Regions from separate parts of the Homo sapiens genome. Here region 1 is linked to region 2. Evidence: promoter capture Hi-C in 16 types of primary human blood cells and fetal thymus (Javierre and others, 2016). All regions are on one chromosome and are shown on one strand. The core of a region is centred on a gene start or on the middle of the fragment in contact, and the rest is flanking DNA. Distances in the headings are between cores, read along the strand shown.

Evidence for each region. The method cuts DNA at HindIII sites, captures the fragments that hold promoters and counts their contacts. A CHiCAGO score of 5 or more calls a contact.
Region 1: a contact is called between a fragment that was not itself captured here and the fragment with the promoter of ADORA2A-AS1 in region 2, in 1 of 17 cell types (monocytes). The highest score is 7.8, in monocytes.

What each region holds. Positions count from the first base shown.
Region 1 is chr22:24,205,073-24,210,030 of GRCh38, forward strand. No RefSeq gene overlaps it. Among named protein-coding and RNA genes, the nearest start is that of SUSD2, 26 kb to the left of the region's middle. RefSeq lists an enhancer at 218-1,186. The HindIII fragment of the contact is 787 bases long and covers 1,042-1,828 here.
Region 2 is chr22:24,492,361-24,496,927 of GRCh38, forward strand. It overlaps ADORA2A-AS1 (ADORA2A antisense RNA 1), which reads right to left and starts at 2,714. Exons shown (of 7, transcript NR_028484.3): 1 at 2,330-2,714. It overlaps UPB1 (beta-ureidopropionase 1), which reads left to right and starts at 2,972. Exons shown (of 10, transcript NM_016327.3): 1 at 2,972-3,147. The coding sequence starts at 3,044. The HindIII fragment of the contact is 15,084 bases long and covers 1-3,655 here.

The DNA.
Region 1 (4,958 bases), core at 185-2,684, 290 kb before region 2:
GGGTTTCACGATGTTCCTCAGGCTGGTCTTGAACTCCTGGGCTCAAGCAATCTTCTCACCTCACTCTTCTTTTTTAAATTTTGAAGCCCTCAAAGTCACCTTTGGGGAAAGGCACAGACCATAGGCTGCTTCTGTGATTCCATTTTTTTTCCCCTCCTGGGCATTGTCCTTAACCTTGGCAAAATAAACTCTTAAGTTGATTGAGACCTGTTTCAGATGCTTTTTGATTCACACTACTACAAGCGATTTTACTTCAAAAAAGGTTTTTTTGTTTATGGCTGGTACGTAGAAATAACATTGATTTTTGCATATATTCCTTGATTCCAATTGATGCGGCTTTGATGACTGGAGGAACACCAGGGTTTTGGTTTTGTACTGATAGGATTAATGACACCGACACATGTGGAATGGTTTTTTGTTTGTTTTTAGCTTTTTATTTTTTTGAGACGGAGTTTCACTCTTGTTGCCCAGGCTGGAGTGCGATGGCACCATCTCAGCTCACTGCAACCTCCGCCTCCCAGTTTCAAGCAGTTCTCTTGGCTCAGCCTCCTGAGTAGCTGGGATTACAGACATGTGCTGCCACACCTGGCTAATATGTGTATTTTTAGTACAGACGGGGTTTCACTATGTTGGTCAGGCTGGTGGAGTGGTTTTAAGGAGCAAAATGTTTAATAGGCAAGAAAGAAGGAAGAAGAAAACAGCTTCCCCTTACAGAGACAGAGCAGGGGGATTTGAATAAAGAGAAACCCCATGTGAGTCAGAAAAGTGGTTGCTTTTATTGGGATGCTGGAGGAGTTGGTGTTTGATCTGCATAAGGCCCAGGGGATTGGTTTGACCAGGTGTGTTATTTACCCAGCCAGTGAAAAACCTGGCCCTTTTACTTTAGTCCTTTAATATGCAAATGCAGATTGCAATGTTTTGAACACATGATGTTATCTGGAGGTGGCCATGACACTTGGGATACCTGGTGACAAGGAGATGATGGTGGGAATTGCCATATTGGGTGAACCCAGTTTTTAAAGGCCGACATTTGCATATTAAAGCTTGCTGGCCCCGCCCTTCGAGCTGCCTTTTTTGTTAGAAAAGAGATGGTTTGGGGGTTGTTTTTTATTACAGGAAAATTTTTACCGAGAACCTTTACCTTTATTATTTGTCTAAAAATTATTTTTAATAACTTCTGTATTACAATGACCTTGCTCAATTCACCTATTTCTTTATTTTATTTTATTTTTATTTATTTATTTATTTTTTTATTTTTTTTGAGACGGAGTCTGGCTGTGTCTCCCAGGCTGGAGTGCAGTGGCGCGATCTCGGCTCACTGCAAGCTCCGCCTCCTGGGTTAACACCATTCTCCTGCCTCAGCCTCCTGAGTAGCTGGGACTACAGGCGCCTGCCACCGCACCCGGCTAATTTTTTGTATTTTTAGTAGAGACGGAGTTTCACCGTGTTAGCCAGGATCGTCTCGATCTCCTGACCTTGTGATCCACCCGTCTCGGCCTCCCAAAGTGCTGGGATTACAGGCCTGAGCCACCGCGCCCGGCCCAATTCACCTATTTCTAACCGTTTCTTGAGTATCTACAGATAATGACTGTAAGAGTTAAAGAAAGAGGAAGGAAACATGAAAAGTGGCTCAACAGTCAAAGACAGGTTTATTCTCCAGAGGGGCTTCTGGCTGATTTCAGTCAGGGGCACTCTCTCTTACAAACAGTCATTTGTAGTTTTCTTTCTGTGAACAGTGAATCACATCCCTGTGCATATTTCTACTGGATACTTGGTCTTTAATACTAATAGTATTTATTGGTTTTTTAGGGTTAGAGGGCTTATCACAAGCTTGGAATGTTTCTGTGTGGGGGAGAAGTTTATGGGGGGGTTGGAATGTCTCTGGTCCCAGGGGAGGTTATCTTGGGGCTAATGTCTCTCTGGCCGGAGGGGAGGTTATCTCGGGGCTGGCATGTCTCTGGTCAGGGAGGGCTTTAGAATGTTTCTGGTTGGAGATGTTATTTGTGGTTTATGGTCATGCTGACCTTAGCCATTAGGCTGATGCCCTTTGGATTTAGGCAGTTTTTGATCAAGGTGAACTTTAAAATGATGGTGCTTGTCCAAGATGGCAATGCTCCTGCTCTGTCAATGACAGTCTTATGTCCTCCTTTCCAACCTTTATGGCTTTTGTTTTTCTCACCTTATTACATTGGCTAAAACTTCCCCTGTAATACTGGAAGGAAATAATGAAATAATTCTTAGCTTGGTTTCAATCTCAAAAGGGAGGCTTTTTATGTTGTACCTTTAAGCATGACATTTACTGTAGGTTTTTGTAGCCACGATTTATCAGATTAAGGAAGTTTCCTTTCATTCCTAGTTGCTGAGAGTTTTTATTGTAACTGAATGTTGGCAAATTTTATCAAATGCTTTTCTGCATCTACTGAGATGGTGAGTGACTTTTCTTCTTTATTCTGTGAGTGTGGTGAATTGTGTTGCTTGATTTTCTTTTTTCTTTTCTTTTTGTTTTGTGACAGGGTCAGGCCCTGTCATCCAGGCTCGGGGGCAGTGGTGTGATCATGGCTCACTATAGCTTTCCACCTCCCAGGCTCAAGTGATCCCCCAACCTCAGCCTCCCGAGTAGCTGGGACTACAGGCGCATGCCACCATGCCCAGCTAATTTTTGCATTTTCTGATAGAGACAGGGTTTTACCATGTTGGCTCGGCTGGTCTCGAACTTCTGGGCTCAAGCGATCCATAGGCTTCAGCCTCCTAAAGTGCTGGAATTACAGGTGTGAGGCTTCATTTTCTAATGTTCAGCCAATCTTGCATTCCTGGAACAAACCTAAATTGGTGGTGACGCATATTTTTTCCTTTCAAGCCCTGGTTTCTTCATGTTTTAAGGGCTATGCATCTCTGTTCATGAATCAAATAGCCCTAGACTTTTCCTTCTTGACATTTTTTTGGCCAGGTTTTGCTTTCAAGGTTATGCTAGCTTCTTCAAAGACGTTGAGCAACCTTTCCTCTTTTCTGTTCTCTGGAAGTTTGTGTAAGACTGGTATTTTTTCTTTCATCAGGGTTTCAAAGAATTCACTGAGGAAGTTCTGGGCTCGGAGTCACTTCCTCTGGCCCTGTGGGATCTCACTGTTGTTTGAATTGGCAATGTTTATTTATGAGTAGGCTTGAGAACTTTTTGTCTGTTGAAACAGCCATTTGTAGTTTTCTTTCTGCAAACAATGAGTCACATCCCTGTTCATATTTCTACTGGATACTTGGTCTCTAATATTAAATATTTAAGTATTTAAATATTTCAAAAACCAGCCCCACATCATGTATTGAAACTGTTTTTCTCCAGGTTTTTCACTGGTCTTTTGTTGTTGTTGTTGTTGTTGTTGATAATAGAGATGAGATCTTACTGTGTTGCTCAGGCTGGTCTCAAACTCCTGGGCTCAAGTGATCCACCTACCTGAGGCACCCAAAGTGCTGAGATCACAGGTGGGAACCATTGTGTTCAGCTTTATGTAAAAAAAAAAAAATTCTGAAAAGACCAGTGAAGGCTGGGCACAGTGGCTCACACCTGAGATCCCAGCACTTTGAAAGGCTTAGGTGGGTGGATTGCTTCAATCCAGGAGTTTGAGACCAGCCTGAGCAACATGGCAAAACCCCATCTCTATTTTTAAAATTATTTTTAAATCAAAAATTTTTGGCTGGGGGCGGTGGCTCACACCTGTAATCCCAACACTTTGTGGGGCTGAGGCAGGTGGATCACCTGAGGTCAGGAGTTCGAGACCAGCCTGACCAAGATGGTGAAACCCTGCCTCTACTAAAAATACAAAAATTAGCCGGATGTGGTGGTGGACGCCTGTAATCCCAACTACTTGGGAGGCTGAGGCAGGAGAATCGCTTGAACCCGGGAGGCGGAGATTCCAGTGAGCTGAGATTGTGCCACTGCACTCCAGCCTGAGCAACAGAGTGAGACTCCATCTCAAAAAAACTTTTAATATTTAAATAAAAATAAAAATTAAACTAAATTTAAATTTTTAATTTTTACATGTTCATATTTATTAGCTTTTTTCTTTTATGGCTTTTTGGTTTTATGACATGCCTAAAAAGGCCTGCCCCACTCTAAGAACATAAACAAAATTTGCCCATGTGTTCTTGTGATATTCATATGGTTTCATTTTGGTTTGTTTGTTTGTTTTGAGACAGAATCTTGCTCTGGAGTGCAGTGGCACAACCTCGACTCACTGCAACCTCCACCTCCCAGGTTCAAGTGATTCTCCCACCTCAGCCTCCCAAGCAGCTGGGATTACAGGCGCCCACCACCATGCCCAGCTAATTTTTACATTTGGAACGTTAGTACTTTAGTCTCCCCATCTATAAAACTGGTATAATCACAGCTCCCCTTCTGGAGAGAATTACATAAATTAACGCATGTAAAGGAATAGAATAGCACCCAGCCCAACTCATGCCGTTTCTGTTGTATTAAGATATATATTCGGGTTAAGGGAAGTTCTGTGAAAGGACCATATGTGCAAAGAGACCCCCACATGCTGAAGGAGCCAAGAAACCAAAGAAGGAGGCCGACAAATCAAGTTTGTTGGTGTGGCACAATTCATTACGGGAAACTTACAGACAGAAGCATGGTCTTGGGCAGCCACAAGACAAGTAATCGTGCACACGGCAAATCCCCAGACCCAGGACTTGTATCTTGGGGAAAATATATGTACCCTGTTAGGAATGTGTAAGTGGCCACAGTTGTCACAGCCTGTGATTTCTGCAACAGCATCGAGGGTGATTTTGGAGGAAATGTACAGTGATTAGGTGTTTCTGCATAATGAGTAAAATACATCAACTACACATTTTGGAGGCATTCCCAGACTCAGGGTTAGTTAGAAGTTATATGGTGAATTAGCATTTAAGATACAGTCACTTTTGTCCTCACAAAGGCGTATCCATCCATTCCCATTTTATTCAGTGTT
Region 2 (4,567 bases), core at 1,464-3,963:
GTAGGGATACACTGAATGAGAGGGTACAAAGGATGGTAAGATACTAGTTTTAGAAAGACAACTAAGGATAGACATTGGAGGTGGAGAGACAAGTTACAAGACTGGCAACAATTCAAGCAAAAGATGACAGGAGGCAGACATGAGGAGGGAGGAGGAAGGATATGAACAAAATCCAGGAGATAAATTTAGCAGAACTTGATGCCTGATTGTATTGAGGAAAGAAAGAACATGGAGGAGTTGCAGATGACTCTCAAAAACTTGGCAAATCAGTGGGTGGTGAGGCCATTACTGAAATAGGGAATACAGTGCAGAAGATAAGAGGCTGGGCGCGGTGGCTCATGCCTGTAATCCCAGCACTTCAGGAGGCTGAGGCAGGCGGATCACCTGAGGTCAGGAGTTCAAGACCAGACTGACCAACATGGTGAAACCCCATCTCTACTAAAAATACAAAAAATTGGCTGGGTGTGATGACACACGCCTGTAATCCCAGCTACTCGGGAGGCTGAGGCAGGAGAATCGCTTGAACCTGGGAGGCGGAGGTTGCAGTGAGCCAAAATCGCACCATTGCACTGCAGCCTGGGCGACAAAAGCGAAACTCTGTAACAACAACAACAACAACAACAAAAGAAGATAAGAGCCTGCTTGAGAAAGGAGGTGAAAGTTCATTCAGTTTGAAGCATTTTGAGTTGGCTTTGAAGCCTCTTCCATGAGACCTCCAACAATTTCTCTAAGCCAGAAATCACCTCTTTGCACTCCATAGTATCTTTTTCATCTCAAATTATTTAAATCTGCTGTATTTACAAGTTTGTCTTTCCTTTTTTTTTTTTTTTTTTTTTTTTTGAGACGGAGTTTTGCTCTTGTTGCCCAGGCTGGAGTACAATGGCACGATCTCAGCTCGCTGCAACCTCCGCCTCCCCTCCTGGGTTCAAGCGATTCTCCTGCCTCAGCCTCCCGAGTAGCTGGGATTACAGGCATGCGCCACCATGCCCGGCAAATTTTTGTATTTTTAGTAGAGACGGGGTTTCACCATGTTGGTCAGGCTGGTCTCGAACTCCTGACCACAGGTGATCTGCCCGCCTCGGCCTCCCAAAGTGCTGGGATTACAGGTGTGAGCCAACGTGCCCAGCCGTCTTTACTTTAAATCACAAAGAAAAGGTACTAGGTCTTATCTGTCTTTATATGGCTCTCTTAGCAGTGCCTTACACATAGAAAGTCCTCAGAGTTTGCACTCTTGAGAAGGCAGCTCCATCAGATACTAGAAACCGTCAGCTAACATTTATCAAAACAAGGAACAAAACTTGTGAATTAGCAGCTGAAACAAAATACCTGAAGTATAATATTTTTAATGTTAGTAGCTGATTCTAGATATAAATTAGCTCCCTTTGTGCTCATTTTACTTGCCTCTTTTTTTTTTTTCTTTGAGATTGCGTCTCACTCTGTTGCCCAGGCTGAAGTGCAGTGTTAAGATCATAGCTAGGGAGCCTCGAACTCCTGGGCTCAAGCGATCCTCTCACCTCTGCCTCCCAAGAAGCAGGTGCGCACCACCATGATAGGCTAATTTGTAAAACATTATTTTGTAGATACAGGGTCTTGCTGTGTTACCCAGGCTGGTCTGGAGTTCCTGGCCTCAAACAATACCCCTTTCTAGGCCTCCCAAAGTGCTGGGTTTACAGGCATGAGCCACCGTGCTGGCCTTTTCTGACTTTTAAACAACCCCGCAGCGTAATCTTTGCATTCCTATTTTACAGATAAAGCAACAGAAGCCTCCAGCGACTAAGTTAAACTTTCCTGGGGTCACAAGGTTTACAAGTGGCTGAATAGGATTTCTACAGACTGGTTCCTTCACCCGGCTGCCCGCCGAAGTAAGCGGGCCTTACTGCCCTAATTCTCAATAGGACCCCAAAGAGGACGCTTCTTTGCTCCTGAAGGGATGGCACCCTCTGGATTCGCGGTAACAGCAAATGGGGCTCTCACTCCTACCATCTCAGTGACAGTTTAAAGCGCACCCTACCGCAGGAAAGTGCCCATATTTGCACACACGCGGCAGAGGGCAGGGCTGAAAAGGGGCCCTAGGGTGCAGGGGGCGCGCCCTCACCCGGGGACCCCGCATTTTACAATATTAGCTCCACCGAGGCGCACGGAACCGCAGGCGAGCAACTGACCTTCGGCTCCAGCGGCCCCAAAGCCGGGGGTGGGAACGCGCGACCCAGGTAGCGGCATGGACTCCGAGCCTGGCCCCTCGGGGGTTAAAACTCCCCAGACATAAAGGCTCCGGACGACAGAGGTGCAGCCGCCGCGTGCCCGTGGGACACTGAAACTCTTCCCTTACCTTCCTCGGTAGTCCTGTGAGGGAGGCTGGCCCGGCCGGCTGCCCTACGGTGCGGACAGGAGGTCGCGGTCGGGAGGGGCCCTGCCCGGCGGTTGCTGCTGGAACCAGCCCCCGCAAGGGCCCGCAGCGGCCGGGCCGTTTACCTCAGACCCGCGCCGCAGCCTCCCGGAGCCCGCGCCCAGGACTCCCTCACGACCTCTCCAGGGTCCCGGCCCGACACCAAGGGGCAGGTGAGGGGTGGAACCTGGAGGCACCCGCGCCAGGGCCCCTGAGGGAGGCGGGAGGGGGACAGCCTCAGTCCTGACTCGCAGCCGAGGCGCGACGACTCCGCGCAGTCCCGCCTGTGGAGGGGCGTGCCTCATCGCTTGCTAACCGAGAGGCGAAGGGCAAGGGGCGAAGGGCAAGCGCCGGATCCTTTCGCCCCCTCCCCACGTGAGGCCCTGGAGGCTGATTGGCCGTGTGCTGCGGAGGCGGCAAGAGGAACGTGTCCTGGCACGTGCCGAAGGAGCGCTAAAGGCCAGGGGCGGTCCCACCCGCGAAGCCCTGGAAGGCGGATTGGCTGCGCGAGGAAGTGGCGTGTCCTCACTTGAGCTGTCTGGGAGCGAGAGTAAGAGATAAAGGCAAGGGCGCCTGACCGGGCCTGGGCACCTCCTCCCACTGCGGGCAAAGGGCAGGCAGTTCGTGCGCGGACACAAGCACTGGCGGACCGTGGCCATGGCGGGCGCTGAGTGGAAGTCGCTGGAGGAATGCTTGGAGAAGCACCTGCCGCTCCCCGACTTGCAGGAAGTGAAGCGCGTTCTCTATGGCAAGGAACTCAGGTCCGCAGCCAAGAGGCTAAGCTAATGGGGTCTTGGGGCCACAGAGTGTGGGTCTGGGGGAGCAGGCAGGGAGGGCCTCAGGGTCTGAAGGGCTCAGGGGAGGCGGTGAGAAGTCCTGAGTTGGCGGGCAGAGACCATAGTAGGTCTTGATGGGACGGCCCCGGGGTCCTTGGGGGTTGCAGAATCCTGGCGTGACCTTTACAAATCTCTTCTCCCCCACGTTGCCCAGAACCGGAAGGAAAAGGACGGGATTTTACTCTCCAGGGCTTTCTCTGTGGCCATCCCAACCCTCCTCCCCGGAGCCGGGCTTGTCTTCTGGATGTCTGGCTGGATCACTGTCTCCAACCAGAGCACCCAGCAGGTGTACTGATTGTCCGGCCCCAGACCATCCTTCTTGCGGTGACCCGACCTCTGGCTGACCCTTGGAAATAGAGGCTGTCTGCATTTAGTTGGCGAGGGAACCTTTCCCACTGGCAAGCCATGGGCGCTGGTTTTTCCACTCCCTGCAAGCTTGTGCATCACCAGGACTTTCTGAGGGCTGTATACTGCTGGACACTGTGTCCACAAAGCTGAAAAAGACACTTCCTGGCCGGGCTCACACCTGTAATCTCAGCACTTTGGGAGGCCAGGGCTGGAAGATTGCTTGAACTCAGGAGTTCGAGACCGGCCTGGGCAACATAGTGAGACACCCATCTCTATAAAGCATTTAAAAAAATAGCCAAGCATGGTAGCATGCATCTGTAGTCCTAGCTACATGGCAGGCTGAGGCGGGAGGATCACTTGAGCTTGGGAGGTCGAGGCTGCAGTGAGCCAAAATCTCTCCTCTGCACTCCAGCCTGGGAGTCAGAGTGAGGCCCTGTCTCAAACACACACACACACACACACACACACACACATACACACACACACACACACACACGTCTTTGGATTTGGAGCTTACTTGGATAATCCCGGATGATCTTATCTTGAGATCCTGACCTTAATTACGTCTGTGAAGACCCTTTTTCCAAATAAAATCACAATGACAGGTTCCAGGTGTCAGGATGGAGACACAGCTCAACCTGCTACAGTAGCTTCAGGGTCTGCAGGTGGAAATAACTCAGGGGCTATTTGCTATGTGGAGGTGGGCCTCAGGTGGGCGAGGCTGGGCTTGTTGAGCTGCCCTGGAGATGGTCATTCCAGGTGAAGGAGGAGCAGGTACAAAAGAGGGCGCTGGAGAGAATGCTGGAAAACCTGGATATTCAAGGGGTCAGAGAAAGAGACTTTGTGGGAGATTCTGGAGGTGAGGACTCTGGGGCAGGACAGGAAAGAAGCATCAGATGGCTCAGAAATGTCTAGCGGGTGAGGACAGCAGGAAGTCTGCTGGATTTAGCCATGATAAGGCTGTTGGCAGTTCCTGAGATGGGGCCAGGAGGTAAGG